Linked DNA regions of Homo sapiens: regions 2 and 3 are each linked to region 1. The links are contacts of gene promoters, found by promoter capture Hi-C in blood cells and fetal thymus (Javierre and others, 2016). All regions are on one chromosome and are shown on one strand. The core of a region is centred on a gene start or on the middle of the fragment in contact, and the rest is flanking DNA. Distances in the headings are between cores, read along the strand shown.

Region 1 (4,681 bases), core at 1,392-3,891:
GGAGGATCATTTGAGGTCAGGAGTTCGAGACCAACCTGGTCATTGTGGCGAAAACCCATCTCTACTAAACATACAAAAATTAGCTGGGCATAGTGGCTCATGCTTATGATCCCAGCTATGTGGGAGGTGGAGGCAGGAAAATCACTTGAACCCAGGAGGCAGAGGTTGCAGTGAGCGGAGATCACACCACTGCACTCCAGCCTGGGCGACAGAGTGAAGTAACTGGTAAAAAATAATACAGTCAATACACTAGAATATATATGTGTGTTTTTAAATAGTAGAATTAATAAATCAAAGGTTGATTTTTTTTTAGGAAAAATTGCTGAATCAATAGTCTAATAGGAGAATGATAGATTATTTGCTTTGAATGTAATGAATGGGATTTAATTATTTTTGTCTAATTACAGGAGCAATATATGCTCAACAATGAAAATAAAATAAAATGTTTATGTTGACCTTGGGTGCAACATAAGTAAAACCCTTTCATAGTTTGACCCCCATTTTACTTGTAACATGCTTGTTTTAAGTCAATGGATTTTTTATATTTCTTCTACAGTATTATCGCCCCTTACCCCACTGCATCTACAGTCTCTCATCACCTAAGATTGTTCATCTCAGAAACATCATTGACAAGTTATTTCTATTATTTTTCTGTATTGTCATGTGTTTTTTGACCTTGACACTTCAAATCCGTAATTAACACCTTCCTTCCTGGATAACTACAGACACTTCTGAGTTGGTGTAACTGGTTCTGCAGTGCCCACTGTGGTATGCTATCCATCAGGACATGTGGTCTTTGGGTCAAGGAATTCAGCCACTGTTACAATCTTGGCCAGGCAGGCTTAGGCATGGGCTAGTGGAATCTTGGTTTAATATCCGTATCTCTTTCCTCCTACTTTCCAATTTCCTGCTGATGCCTCCTATCGGCGGCAACCAACTGGAAGCCAGAGGGCCAGGCAGCCTGGATAGTGCAGTCTTTTTGCCTGTTCAGGTCAGTTGATGCAGAGCTGGAAGAGCTGGGAGGAACCACTAGAAGGTGGAATGGAGAATATCCAGCATGCTAGCAGCAATCTTGCCCTTCCTCTCTTCTTCCCAGAGATAATATGGCCACCTTGAATTTTGTTCTTTTCCCGAATTTGACACACTCCGTCTGGATTCTTGCCTTTGCAAATACAGGTTTCTCCTGCAGGAATTTCCTTACCCAACTTCTTTGTGTGGCAAACTCCTACTTACTCTTTAAGATCCAACTCAAATATCATCACTCTCCTATTGACACACATGAGGAGGCAGCAAGGCACTCTAAATAGAACAAAGAAACATCAGGTCAGCTCCTCAATCTGTCACTTACTAGTTAATGTGACTTTGTGTGGGGGTACTTTTGTGATTCTAAGTTTCCTCTTTGGCAAAATAGGAATGGGAATACAGTAGGCCTTTGCTGTCCACTGGTTGCACACAGAGAATTCAACACACGGGATGGAAAATATTCGGGAAAAAACCCCACAGTTGAAAATAACAATACAACAATTAAAAAATAATATGAATAAAAGTACAGTGTAACAACTATTTACATAGCATTTACAGTGTATTAGGTATTGTAAGCAATCTAGAGATGATTTAAAGCATATAGGAGGATGTGTGTAGGTTATATGCAAATACTACACCATTTTATAAAAGAGACTTAAGCATGGGTGGATTTGGGTATCTGCGGGGGTCCTGGAACCAATTACCTAGGGATACCGAGGGCCCACTTTACCTGCCTTGACATCCCTTTCCCAGGGAACGTGAAATGATCAGACCGAGAAAATGCAAATCATTTTCCAAATGTAATTTTGTTGTTGTTCTTACCGCTGCTTATAATTAAAAAAAAAATAATTTGCTCAGCTCGATCACTGTGCACGGTGCAAAAAATCAACTTTGGTACCATTCAGCAAATCATACCCCCACGTCCCGCCTTTATTTTCCTTTTTTGCAGCCCGGTTTCTCTCTTCTGCTCACTCATACCCGCCCACCCCGCTTTTGTAGCTTGCTTGTTCATATCTGAACTTGGGTATCCAAAGACACTGCTTGACTTTGCAGGTACATTTCACAGTTAAAGAGGGTTCGTCATTTAGTAGTCGGGGATGGGGAGAACTGTCACAAAGCAAAAGTCTACATTCTAAATCGTGAAGTTCTGGGAGCTGAGAATCAGATTGGCAGGGCCAAGAACGAATCCGTCGACGAGCCGGGAGGCGGGGCTCCTGCTGGGGCCTCTGCAGCCCGCGCTGGGTTCCCGAATTCCCGCGCTGTAAGCCGGAACCCCAGGCCAGCGGGCGCCGCGGCGGGCCCGGAGATCGGTGCAGGACGCACGGCCTAGCCAGAACTACAACTCCCGACGTGCGCGGCGGCCAACGCTGGTTCTATCCCTGCTTGTTGCTTTTTTTTTTCCCTCCGCTTCTTGCGACGGAGACTGCTGTCCAGGAAGTGCGCAGTAGTGATTCTAGAGAGGCTGGAAGCTCTCCTGGCGACGCTGGGGCCGCGAAGGGCTCACGTAATGACTCCTACTCCTGGTGAGCGCAGGCGTTGCGGAACTCACCGTCCCACAGGACGTGTTTCCGGGGGTACATTAATTGTGGCTGGACGCAGTGGCGCGGCAGTTTAATTCTCCGGCGGCTGCAGATTGACGGGACGAGATGGTCCTGGCAGGGCTCATCAGGAAACTCGGTAACTGTCAGCTTGCCCCTCGCCCAAGGCACCCCCCGCGCTCTGGCCACTTGCTGAGAATGGTCGTGTCACGTTTCCGCGGCCGGCCGCTCCGCGACCGCTCCCTCTTTCACCCCCGCTTTGTCAGGATAGCCCCCGGGGACCCATCTCGGACTTTGTGTAAACTTCGCGGTTCGCGTCCCGAAGGCACCAGTGGCCTGCTTCTGAAAAAAACTGGTTTATTCCGTCTTCACGCCGCTCCTGCCCACAGCATAAATAACGTAGTCTCTTTGCAGTCGGGAAATAAAATAGTTTTGTGCCGTTCGTTGACAGGTCATCAGCTGGCCGAGATCAGGGAGCGCGCTCTCAAGAGTATTCTCTGCAAGATTGAGCACAACTTAATCTGCTACGCTGATCTCATTCAGGAGAGGCAACTTTTTCTTCATTTGCTGGAATGGTTCAATTTCCCGTCCGTTCCGATGAAGGAAGAGGTTCTGAACCTGTTAAGCAGATTGGTTAAGGTAGGGTCATTTTGAAATAAAGAAAATAATCAGACGAGTGACTTGTTTCTTAGTCATTTAATTGTAGCGTTTATTGAAAGTTAAATAATTGGGGTTAAAAGTTTTTTTAATCAACCAGAGATGTTTAATTTTAATTAATCTGGGTATATGGTTCATCTTTTATTTGTGATACTGAATCCCACATGGTCTCTGCTGTGCTCAGAAGTAACACAGAACTTCTTTTGAGTTTTGGTATGTTCTGTGTTTTTGAGTTATCTTTGGAGGTTAATATTTGTATTCTGTTTTTGTTTTCTGACATTTACATCTTAAAAACTAGATATGTCAGTATGAAAGGGAGCACTTTAAAAATAATGTTACATAACCGTGATTCATAAATACCAATGTTAAGTTGCTTGCCCATATGCTTTTAGATTGGTATTCTTATGCCTACCTCAAGAGTAGTTAGTTATCGGGGTCAGATATCAAAGTGTAAGTTTAACCTTTCAAAACTAAATCACTGTACAATGGTAGAGGAATCTTAAACTACTTTGACATCCTGTTGACCGGTTGGGGCTGGGACCATAAGGTGAGTGTCAGTGGAAAAAAGTAACCCATTAAAAAAATAAGAGTAGGGATTGATAATGTGCATTTCTAGCGTTCAGTGTGTTGGCTCATCTTTCATAAATGTTATCAAGTGTTGGATGTATGTCTCTATAGGTGTATGTGCTCCTCATGGAAGTGCCTTACTTCGGGGCAGAGCCATGAAGGATTTGTTTTTCAGAAAAGGAACATCTGATATACCAAAAATAATTTTATGTTTTGATTGCTGTAAGTTATAGAGATTTTGATACAGTTATTCTCAAGATCATCCTCTTCTTATTTTAGTATCCCCCAGCAGTCCAACATTTGGTTGACGTTGGTGCAGTAGAGTTCTTATCTAAGCTTCGGTCTAATGTGGAGCCAAATCTGCAGGCTGAAATTGATGGCATTCTGGATGGACTTTTTCTTCTTCCTTCGGAAGTTCCTGCACTATCTTCTGCCTCATACCAAACCAATCAAACTGGTAACTCTTTGGAATCTGTTAAATACAAATATATTAATTCTAATGGTAAATTTTAAGGAAAGGGAGATTAGATTTTTTTAAAAAGGATTTCTCCCACCTCCCCCAAACTTATTTTTCTTGTGTTAACTTACATGATTTTGACCTTTTTCCCCTCCTCTACTGTTAGTCAAAGGATGGTACATTTGCATTAATTGCTTTTTGGGTCAGGCCTAAACGATGCCAGTGACTTTGCTTTTATGAGGCCAGTTTGACAGATTATTTTTTTGGCAATAACAATGTATTTTTATTGAGCACATGAGTGCTCATTGTTCTTAGTGCTTTATATTTGTATTTTTGACCTTGTTCGTCATATTGGAGTATAATGATATCTGTCCTAGCTCATGATCTTGTTGTGGGGACCAATCAAAACGACATAATGCAAGTATTTTTATATGCTGCA
Region 2 (4,686 bases), core at 275-2,774, about 28 Mb after region 1:
TGAAGCCAGATAATCTACAACTTGCTTTCCTAACCACTATAGCACTATACACTATAATGCCTCTCTTAGACTTCAACACATGATGAATTGAGTATATAAGGATGCTATTTTAAAATAGCTGGATAAGATGACTTATTTAATAAGCAGTGTTGGGACAAATATTCAAACCATTTGTTTTGGTTTTCTCTAAAAAGCTATTCTCACTATACCACTCTTTCACAAAAGTAATTTTAGATAAATCAAAGATTTTAATATAAAGGAATAAAAGCACAACAGAAGAAACCATTTTAAAGAATCTTAAATGGGAACTTCCTAAAACATTAAATTCACAGCCCAAAAACTAAAAACTGATAGATTCAAGATAATAATTTAAAATCCATGAAGAGCAAACAAATACATACTAATTCAAAAGAACAAACCAAACCAGAAAAGCAGTATTTGTAACATAACCCACAAAGGGCTAATTCCATTCATCTACAAAGACTCCTTATATATCAATAAGAAAACGACAACTCAAAAAAAAAAAAAAGCAAAGAATTTTATGATATGTGAATTATATCTCAATTTCTAAAAAGGACAAAGTACATCAAAAAGCAGTTCATGGAAACATAAACACAAATAGTCAATAAACACTCCAAAATACAATCCTCCTCATACTTAATGATGTAAAAATTAAATAACATTTTTTAACTTTAAAGTAGACAAAAATTAAGACATTTGTAATATCCAGACAGATCTATAGCATTTCACACTGAAAGGAACCAGAACTTCTTTCAGAGATTCCAGGTCTGGAGCAGAAAATTACCAAATGAGCCTGGAAAAACTTGTCTACCAGAAAGCAAAGAAGCTACCAATCACTAGTAGTGTACTGCCAAAAGGACACGGGGTCTACTTGAAGGGTCTCCTACTGACCAAAAATGAGATTTTTTGAGCATTATAAAGAGTAAAGACAGCAATGGACTAAAACACATAAAAAACAAAATGCACAAAAGCCATCGATCACCACCTTTGCAAGTTACTAGGGCACAAACTCATTAGTCTTAAAATCGGTAAAGGGAAAGAAAGTTAAAATATTTATCTGTCTTTCCTATATGAACTAAGTAAATACTTGATGAAGGACCAAGTTCTTTAGTGAAAAATTCCTATTAGTAAATGCAGAATAATAACAGAATGTCACAAATTCTCTAAAGACAGACTGAGTCCTCTGTCCCAGGAGAAAAACGATATAGAGAAAATATCCTTTGGGACTATGGGATTTTTTTTTTAACAATTAACATCTAGTATTTGCAAATGTTTCAAAAACTGAATTATCTTTTCTATCACAATCATTACCATCATTAGCTAATGAATGCTTTTTAATCCTGTTTTTCATCCTTTCTGTCAATATTATAAAAAAAGCAGATAAACCCTGTAACAAAGCAGTTATATGTCATAGTCACTTTTCCCTAAAAGCAAGGTTCTATTTCCCAATGACTTCTATTTTCTACTAGAAATCACATTAAATCACCAACAGAAGAGCAATATAAATTGTATTTCCTAATCTATCTGTATATCCTGTAGGAAATATATGTTAAAATCAGTGTAAGGAATGATCAAATCATATGTACCTAACTGGTTTACACTGGAGACTGAGCATAAACTATTAAAGCCTTCCCTCATTCCGAAAAAGAAAAGGGTCAGAAAGCTGCTACACTCCTACAGATGAGACCAACAGAATGCTTACCCGTATTTTCCAAAGAGCGAAACCGTTGTTCCTCCTACAGGCACTGCTTTTCCGGGACCATACACATCCCATATGGTGAGGGCCACTTGGGCATTCCTGGGCAGGTCAGGGTATTTTACTGGTAGTTTCAGCCATTCATTCCAGCTATGGAAATGAAGTTAACATAAATCAGAAATACATATATATATATCTTTCTTTTAAATTAACAAACCACACAAAAAGTTTTGGCCAGAGGAAAAGGTTCCAAAAATGTTGTTAGACTCTAAAAAATAATATGGCAGTCACCTCAATTTTGCTAAAGGCAACTTTCCATTTTAAATAAAAACATAATTGTTTTAATAGAGCTCATGAAAAACAGCTCTGTTAAATTTTTTAATAAAACTCAGAAAACACCAAGACACCAGATAATATAATGGCGAAAAAAACCTGGGAAAACATTTCAACCTGTTAGAACTTTTTAAACAAACCATGATTTTCTTTAACCACTCTTCAAAACCCAATTTACATTATGAAGATAAAATAATCAAAATTACTCATACTCAAAAGCACTTCTGAGAATAAATCAGGAAAAAAAACAATCAAAACAAAAACTCAAAGTAGAAAATCTACTACCTTTATCACATGAAGTTACCAGACTGCTCCAGACAGATATGTGACTTCTTATGCGAGAATTTTCTGTTCCTCAAATGATTTCATTAATACTGATAACATTAAGCTATTAGTGCTTTATGCTTTCAAAGCACATCTGTATATATTCTTTCACTGAGGAATGTTTGTTAATAATAATATAGTTAATGACACCACAGCTCTTTTTTTTTAAACCCTCTATATATTTATGTAAATTTTCTTATACTTTTAAATTTCACACTGTATTCATTTGATAATTTCAACCCTCTTCAAGAGGAGCTGGCTTTTAAATTCCAAAAGAATACTGTGCCAACAATATGCCAAACTAATACCTAGCAGACACATAGAATTCTATTTCTGTTTACTCAAAATTATTCTGTTCATTCAAAGTTATTATCTAAGGGACATATCCTAGTCTATGTTAAATACATCTGTATTGCTAAAACATTTAACAAAATTTCCAAAAACTTAAACAACAAATCATTTATATACGCCATATAAATTAGAGATGGCTATCAATTTCAAGAAAAAGGAGTTATTAAATCCTTTTCTTCTATGAAATACTTTTTTAATCACATGCTTAAGAAAGCCAGTATCTACTACAAATAGGCTCAAACAACTAAATAAAATTATCTAATTACTAGCCACATGGTAGGGCAGGCTAGAAAGAAAAACACTAAGCAGTGCCAACTTTTGCCAATGAATAAACCACAGAAGTTAATTAACACTGGCTAAAGTTGAAGACAACAATAAGCGATAACATCCAAAATAATGTTTTGGATATTATCCAAATTTCTTTTTGGATAATATTGTGGAATTTATTATTCTGTATTCTGTCCTTTAATGACTACCAGACAACACCAATGACCAACTAATCATTTGTCTCAAACCTTTTGCTATCCAATACCAGGCAACACCACTTTCAATCAAAGCAACTGCACTTAATATGTTTTATATACGAGGCTTCTGCAGAAGAGTTCTTTTGAAAAAAATGATCCTACTTTGGGAGGCCGAGGCAGGCAGATCACTTGAGGTCAGGAGTTCAAGATGAGCTTCGCCAACATGGTGAAACCGTGTCTCTACTAAAAATACAAAAATCAGCCGGGCATGGTGGTGCGCGCCTGTAGTCCCAGCTACTTGGGAGGCTGAGGCAGGAGATTGCTTGAACCCAGAGGGTGAAGACTGCAGTGAGCCAAGATCATGCCACTGCACTCCAGCCTGGCGACAGAGCGAGACGCCATCTCAAAAAAAAAAAGAAAAAAGAAAAAATGATCCTTCAGTCAAAAAGTTTGAAAACTGCTCTAGATATTCTAGAAGTTATAGAAAAATCTAGTCAGACACCAAAAAGGTATATATTTTGGACACCACTTCGTTCTCCTCCTCTTCACGAATCATCCCTACCCCATCCGCTAACCCTCATTAACCTTAAGATTACATTCACTTGGCAACAATCAAAACATCACCAGACTGCAAAGCCTAAATCTGGATGCTCCAATCCCCACCAGGTACCGCCATCACCGCATACCATTGTGCTAGCACTCGAATCTGATTAAAATACTTCTGAATCCTAACTTTGTAATTTTTGAATTAGATTGTATTATATGTCTCTCTAAAGCCATTTTCAAAACCTTTATGAGACAATGTGAAATATAAGTGTTCTTAAAAATGTAAACTACTTCCCTAAAGAATAATATTCACATAAGAAAAAAACTTAGAAATTTGCAGTACATACACCTAAAAATGAGAATTTACCTTAAGTGTAATTAAAGGAAGTACAAGTGTCCCTCATGGGATCTCTTAGTGTAGGACAGAATAGGACATGATATGATAGACTTGAATAAATTTCGGATGAGTTCCTCATTATTAGAACTCTCACAACTCACTATCAGAAAGTCAGAAATCAAACAGATTTAAATAATTTAGAATCTCATACTGGCCCTAAAATACTATCTGAACTAAGGAATGCAAAAATTTGGATAGCAAGAGATCCCTTTATGATCTAATTTCTTCTTTCCAAGGTTTATAGAATATCTCTTTTAAGCAAATACTTATAAATAAGGACTATTTAAGGTTTTTACCTCCACTCACTTTAGGATGGCAATTTTTGTTTTGATGAACTACCAATAAATTCAACTTTCGAATACTAAAGAGCAGGATGTATAAAATGTGCAAATGTTTTCTCTTAGTCTCCTAAAGACTATTCTTTTTTTTTGAGATGGAGTCTCGTTCTGTTGCCCAGGCTGGAGTGCAATGGCTCAATCTCAGCTCACTGCAACCTCTGCCTCCTGGGTTCCGGCGATTCTCCTGCCTTAGCCTCCCAAGTAGCTGGGATTACA
Region 3 (4,486 bases), core at 1,892-4,391, about 28 Mb after region 1:
ATAGCCCTAAAGGTAACGTAAATAAAAATATGCTTCAGCGGGGAACTACACATTACCTAGTGACTCTTTTGGCTTATATGATTCTAGTCTTTCGTAGTCTTTGAGCTATTTTGTCACTTTGTAAAATTGTAGACAACTAATAACAACACAAAATAATTCCTATAGACAATTCCAATTGACGTTTTTCCACTACCTTTGGAAAAACCAGTTTTGCCTTAATTTGTATATCATTTTAATATTCCTGAACTAAAGATATCAAGAATAGTCTTTGAATTCTCTTTTTGACTTTTATGACATCTAACTGGTTCCAGTTCCCTTATTGATTAATGAGTAGAATGAAATTGTTAACATGTATGCATTTTTATATCTGTGTGAAAGTTGTCATTTTATCTTTTTGTAAGAATTATCTTTTGTAGCAACATGAAGTCTTCAATGAGTGATATATCAATATATGAACAACTGCATAAATAAGTCAGGTTGCATAGCAGGTGAACTCTCAAGAGGCAAGACAGTTTAGTTCTAGTTAACAACCAAGCTAAGAATGACAATTCTGAACTTTATCTGAGCCATGTATTCCTGGAAAATAGGGATGGTTAAGAAGACTCTCACTCTTTGTGATCTGGGAAAATGGCCACCATGAACAACCCTTCCCCCATGACTTACATAAAACTTGCTAATGAACCTCTTTTTAACGATCACAAGACCAGCCACAGACCCTTCACATTCCCATTATTTGTTTCATAAATGATTAAACTGTTTGTCTTTCCCAAATCAGCGAGACACAGAGATAAATATTTTCCCTCTATGCTGACTGAGACTCTTCCTGATTATAAAATGATTCCAACTGTAAAATCTCCCCATCTATAACTTGTTTATTCCTCCCTATATAAGTCTAAGGTGAAACCATTCTGCCAAGAAACTCTGGTCTTCAGACCTGAGGTGTTCTCCCTATTGCAGTAGCCTAAATAAAATCAGTTTTCTGGCCCCACAAAGTGGTGTGTGCCTGTAATCTCAGCTACAAGGCAAGGGAATCCTTGGAGAACAGGAGTTCAAGAGCAGTCTGGGCAATATAGTAAGACCCCATCTCAAGAATGAATGAATAAATAAATAAACAAATAAATAGGTAACAGTTCCAGGCGCACTTAAAAAAATCCAGTTGACAACAAAATGTAGCTAAAAAATGAATAAATAAAAAGTTTTTGGAAAAGATCAATTTTCTTAGTTGTTTGGGTCCCATATTCCAAGTTTCTCCAAACAGAGCTGAAGAGAAGTCTAGGATGTAGTTGACAATTTGTGGGTTCAGTGAAATTATTTCCTCTTCAACCTTTGTTTCAGTTTCAGCATAGTCTATTTGCTTTCCCTTTTCCTCTTTTCTACTCATAGTTTCATTCTGGAGTTTTTACATCTATTGATTAAACATATTATCATTTGGGCCCTCTGCAAAGGGATTGACTTCTGTCTGCACTATAACCCTCTGATAAAAATAAAAGATGTCTTAGTGGATTTAACTATTTATAAGTTAAACTAAAATAATTTAAAACTATATGAAGAAAGAAATATTTTGAAGGCAAAATTATACAGCATGCTATTTTTGTCTTTAATGGTTCTTGATGCATAGTTATTTAGTATGGTACAAATACATGTTGAATGCATTTTAGTATTTACAATCCCAGCCAACTTTAGTATTACTGTATTGGAAGTATTTTTCCATGCAATGCACAGAAGCTGTGGATTCCCCCTTTTCTTTCTTTCTCTTTTTCCTTCTTTCCTTTTTTCCTTCCTTCCTTTCTTCTTTCCTTTCCTTTCCTTTCCTTTCCTTTCCTTTCCTTTCCTTTCCTTTCCTTTCCTTTCTTTTTTTCGAGATAAGGTCTCCCTCTGTCACCCAGGCTGGGGTGCAGTTAGTGGCACAATCATGGCTCATTTAGCCTCGACCTCCCAGACTCAAGTGATCCTCCCACCTCAGGCTCCCAAGTAGCTAGGACTACAGGCTACAGGAAAGTGCCACTATGCCCAGCTAACTTTTCAATTTTTTTGTAGAGGCAGGGGTCTGCATATGTTGCTCAGGCTGGTCTCGATCTCCTTTGCTCAAGCGATCCTGCCATCTTGGCCTCCCAAAGTACTGGGGTTACAGGTGTGAGTCATTGCACCTGGACAGATTTCCTTTTTCTATAGGAGATGCCATTCTAAAATGCTGGTTTTTCCAATACTGATTTGAATAATCCTGTCATGACCTAGAATCTTTCTTTGATCTGTTGATTATTTTTTTCAGCCTCACAAATGATCTTAGATCAAAGGGAAAAGGCCCCCACCATTTTATGTATCATTTGAACCTGGGACTTGCATGTTGTATAGGAGAGATGAACAGAACTACAAAACCACTGGTACTTTTTATTTAGTATGCTGCCTTTTATTTTTTCCTATCTCACACATGTATTTGCTTTTTCAGCCCACATTGATCAGCATGGAATATAACATATGTTTTTATATATTTACCAAAATTTCCAGAACAGTGCCTGACAGATACTGACACTCAAAAGCAAATGTATTGATGCTAAGTTGTTTATCTTTTGATTAATTGCTTCATGTGGGTGATAGTATTCGCAAGTTTCTATTTTATTAATATGCTAATCTTTTAAATATTGAGACAAATAGTTAAATAAATAACCTTGGGTCATCCCATAGAAGCAACTTGGATAGAAATTTCTTCAAGTGTCAGCCAATAAGTTCTGTTTTCCTAGTGTCCCAGGAGAGTGATGATTTAGGGAAAAAAAACCAAAAAGCAAGAATCTCCATTCCTGTTTTACCTTATGTAAGAAGGTTGGGCACGGACAGGTGGGGATGAAGCTTGATTTTGTAAGTCCAGTAGGTTGTTAGGATATTAGACAGAGATTCAGAGTAAAGGTGGAGAAAGAGAAATATCAACACATGTAATGTTGATCTCTGTGATGCCCAATTTTATGCTTAAGAAGGCTGGCAGGGCCATTGATGTGATTTGAATCTCAGAGTGAATTCATAAACTTTTTTTGTCTTTCTCCTTCCTTCCCTACACCCCGTCAATCAGAGATTGCATCTGCAGAGAGGCAGTCGACATCATTATGAAGCTGGGCTGCTTCCTGATGTAAATCGGTATTTTCACAGAGAGAGAGAGAGAGAGACCTAGAAGGGGAGATAGATGCCTGGGGCAGGGTCATTTTCTGACCCCAGGTAATCATCCTTCACCAAGAGCAGTCCCAGGACCAAGCGCTAGCTAAACAAACATATCTGCCCCATCAGCTGCTAACTTGTCTCCTGCCTTTTGAAGAAAAGGCTTCCTCCTATGCCTGCCTAATGAGTACTGCCTGCCACTCTCTTGAGCTGGCTTTTACAGCATCAAGAACCCTCTGCGCAAACACTGAGCTCTTCTCTCTACTTTGCACTTCAAGAATGTAGGAAGCTTCAGGGGAAATAAGGATTCAGGATTTTTTTCTACATCCATTTTGATGAGCATTTGCTTTCCCTACAGGATGTGCTGAAATACTTTGAAAACTCACACGCTTCTTTCAGGGAATGGCACAGTCAGACAGAAGGCATGTGGTCTGCTAGGCCAAAGGTGGAATGCAAGGAGATTCTTAGCAGTATTGAGCCATGAGCACACTGATCTGCTTCCTCTCCTCTTCCTTCATCCAGCCCTGCTAGGTAAATGAGATTGACCAAGGCTACAGAGAGGGAGAGAAAAAATGCTGAAAAACTCAAATGATTGTGTTGTCCTCAACCTCATTTGCTATGCGTCTCTCTGCTTTCCCTATCCCTTTCCTCAGGCCTGCCAAGGCATTCTACCTGGAGATTCAATTACTCCCCAATATCTGAGTTAATCCAGAATGAACAGGAAATTCAATGTTGCAGCTCTAGCAATGACCCTTTTCGCACTCCTCACTCCTGCACCCACCCAAACCCACATACATACACCTTCTCCGATCCAGTGGAGAAACTACACTGATCTAGAGGTCTCTTGCATTCATGCTTCAGTATACAATTTGGCTGACTCCAGATATTATATCTAGATGGAGAGAAAAATAGTGACCTGGAGTCCATTCCTAAATAAATAAGGGCAGATCCTGCTTCTCAGGTGGGTGAGTAGGGAAGTAGAGGTATTGGACTCTGGTGGCCGGAGCTTGGAAAGAGCCATTTTGTTGTTGTTGTTGTTGTTTGTTTTTGTTTTTGTTTTCTTCTGGCTTACTTCTCCAAGAAAGAAAGAGCTAAGGGTTTGAAGCTGGGACACATTATGACTCCTAGATCCTGAGCATATTAACCCCTTCCTTTATAGAAAAAATACTAGAAAGTGTGTTTTATAACCACATTAGTAAAACATAAATATAATTCAGGTTAGATCATATATTTTCTTTCTTCTGATTTTAAAAGAAAAAAAATACTTTGCTACTCTCCTGAAAGTATCATGGGCCTTGGGCTCTGTGTCTTCCATGCCCAGTGGATAAACTGGCCCTCATTT

What was found. Contacts are between HindIII fragments. The CHiCAGO score rates a contact against its expected background, and 5 or more counts as called.
Region 2: a contact is called between a fragment that was not itself captured here and the fragment with the promoter of RTTN in region 1, in 1 of 17 cell types (total B cells). The highest score is 11.6, in total B cells.
Region 3: a contact is called between a fragment that was not itself captured here and the fragment with the promoter of RTTN in region 1, in 1 of 17 cell types (total B cells). The highest score is 6.9, in total B cells.

The regions. Positions count from the first base shown.
Region 1 is chr18:70,203,647-70,208,327 of GRCh38, reverse strand. RTTN (rotatin) reads left to right here and starts at 2,641. Exons shown (of 49, transcript NM_173630.4): 1 at 2,641-2,700; 2 at 3,013-3,200; 3 at 4,065-4,242. The coding sequence starts at 2,670. LOC105372180 (a long non-coding RNA gene) reads right to left here and starts at 2,539. Exons shown (of 3, transcript XR_935599.3): 1 at 1,754-2,539; 2 at 1,234-1,299. RefSeq lists enhancers at 2,242-2,481, 1,944-2,573, 2,492-2,601, 2,812-2,941. The HindIII fragment of the contact is 5,232 bases long and covers 1-4,123 here.
Region 2 is chr18:41,959,670-41,964,355 of GRCh38, reverse strand. PIK3C3 (phosphatidylinositol 3-kinase catalytic subunit type 3) reads right to left here. Exons shown (of 25, transcript NM_002647.4): 3 at 1,724-1,867. Among named protein-coding and RNA genes, the nearest start is that of PIK3C3, 6.8 kb to the right of the region's middle. The HindIII fragment of the contact is 7,419 bases long and covers 1-4,686 here.
Region 3 is chr18:41,939,776-41,944,261 of GRCh38, reverse strand. No RefSeq gene overlaps it. Among named protein-coding and RNA genes, the nearest start is that of PIK3C3, 13 kb to the left of the region's middle. The HindIII fragment of the contact is 589 bases long and covers 2,847-3,435 here.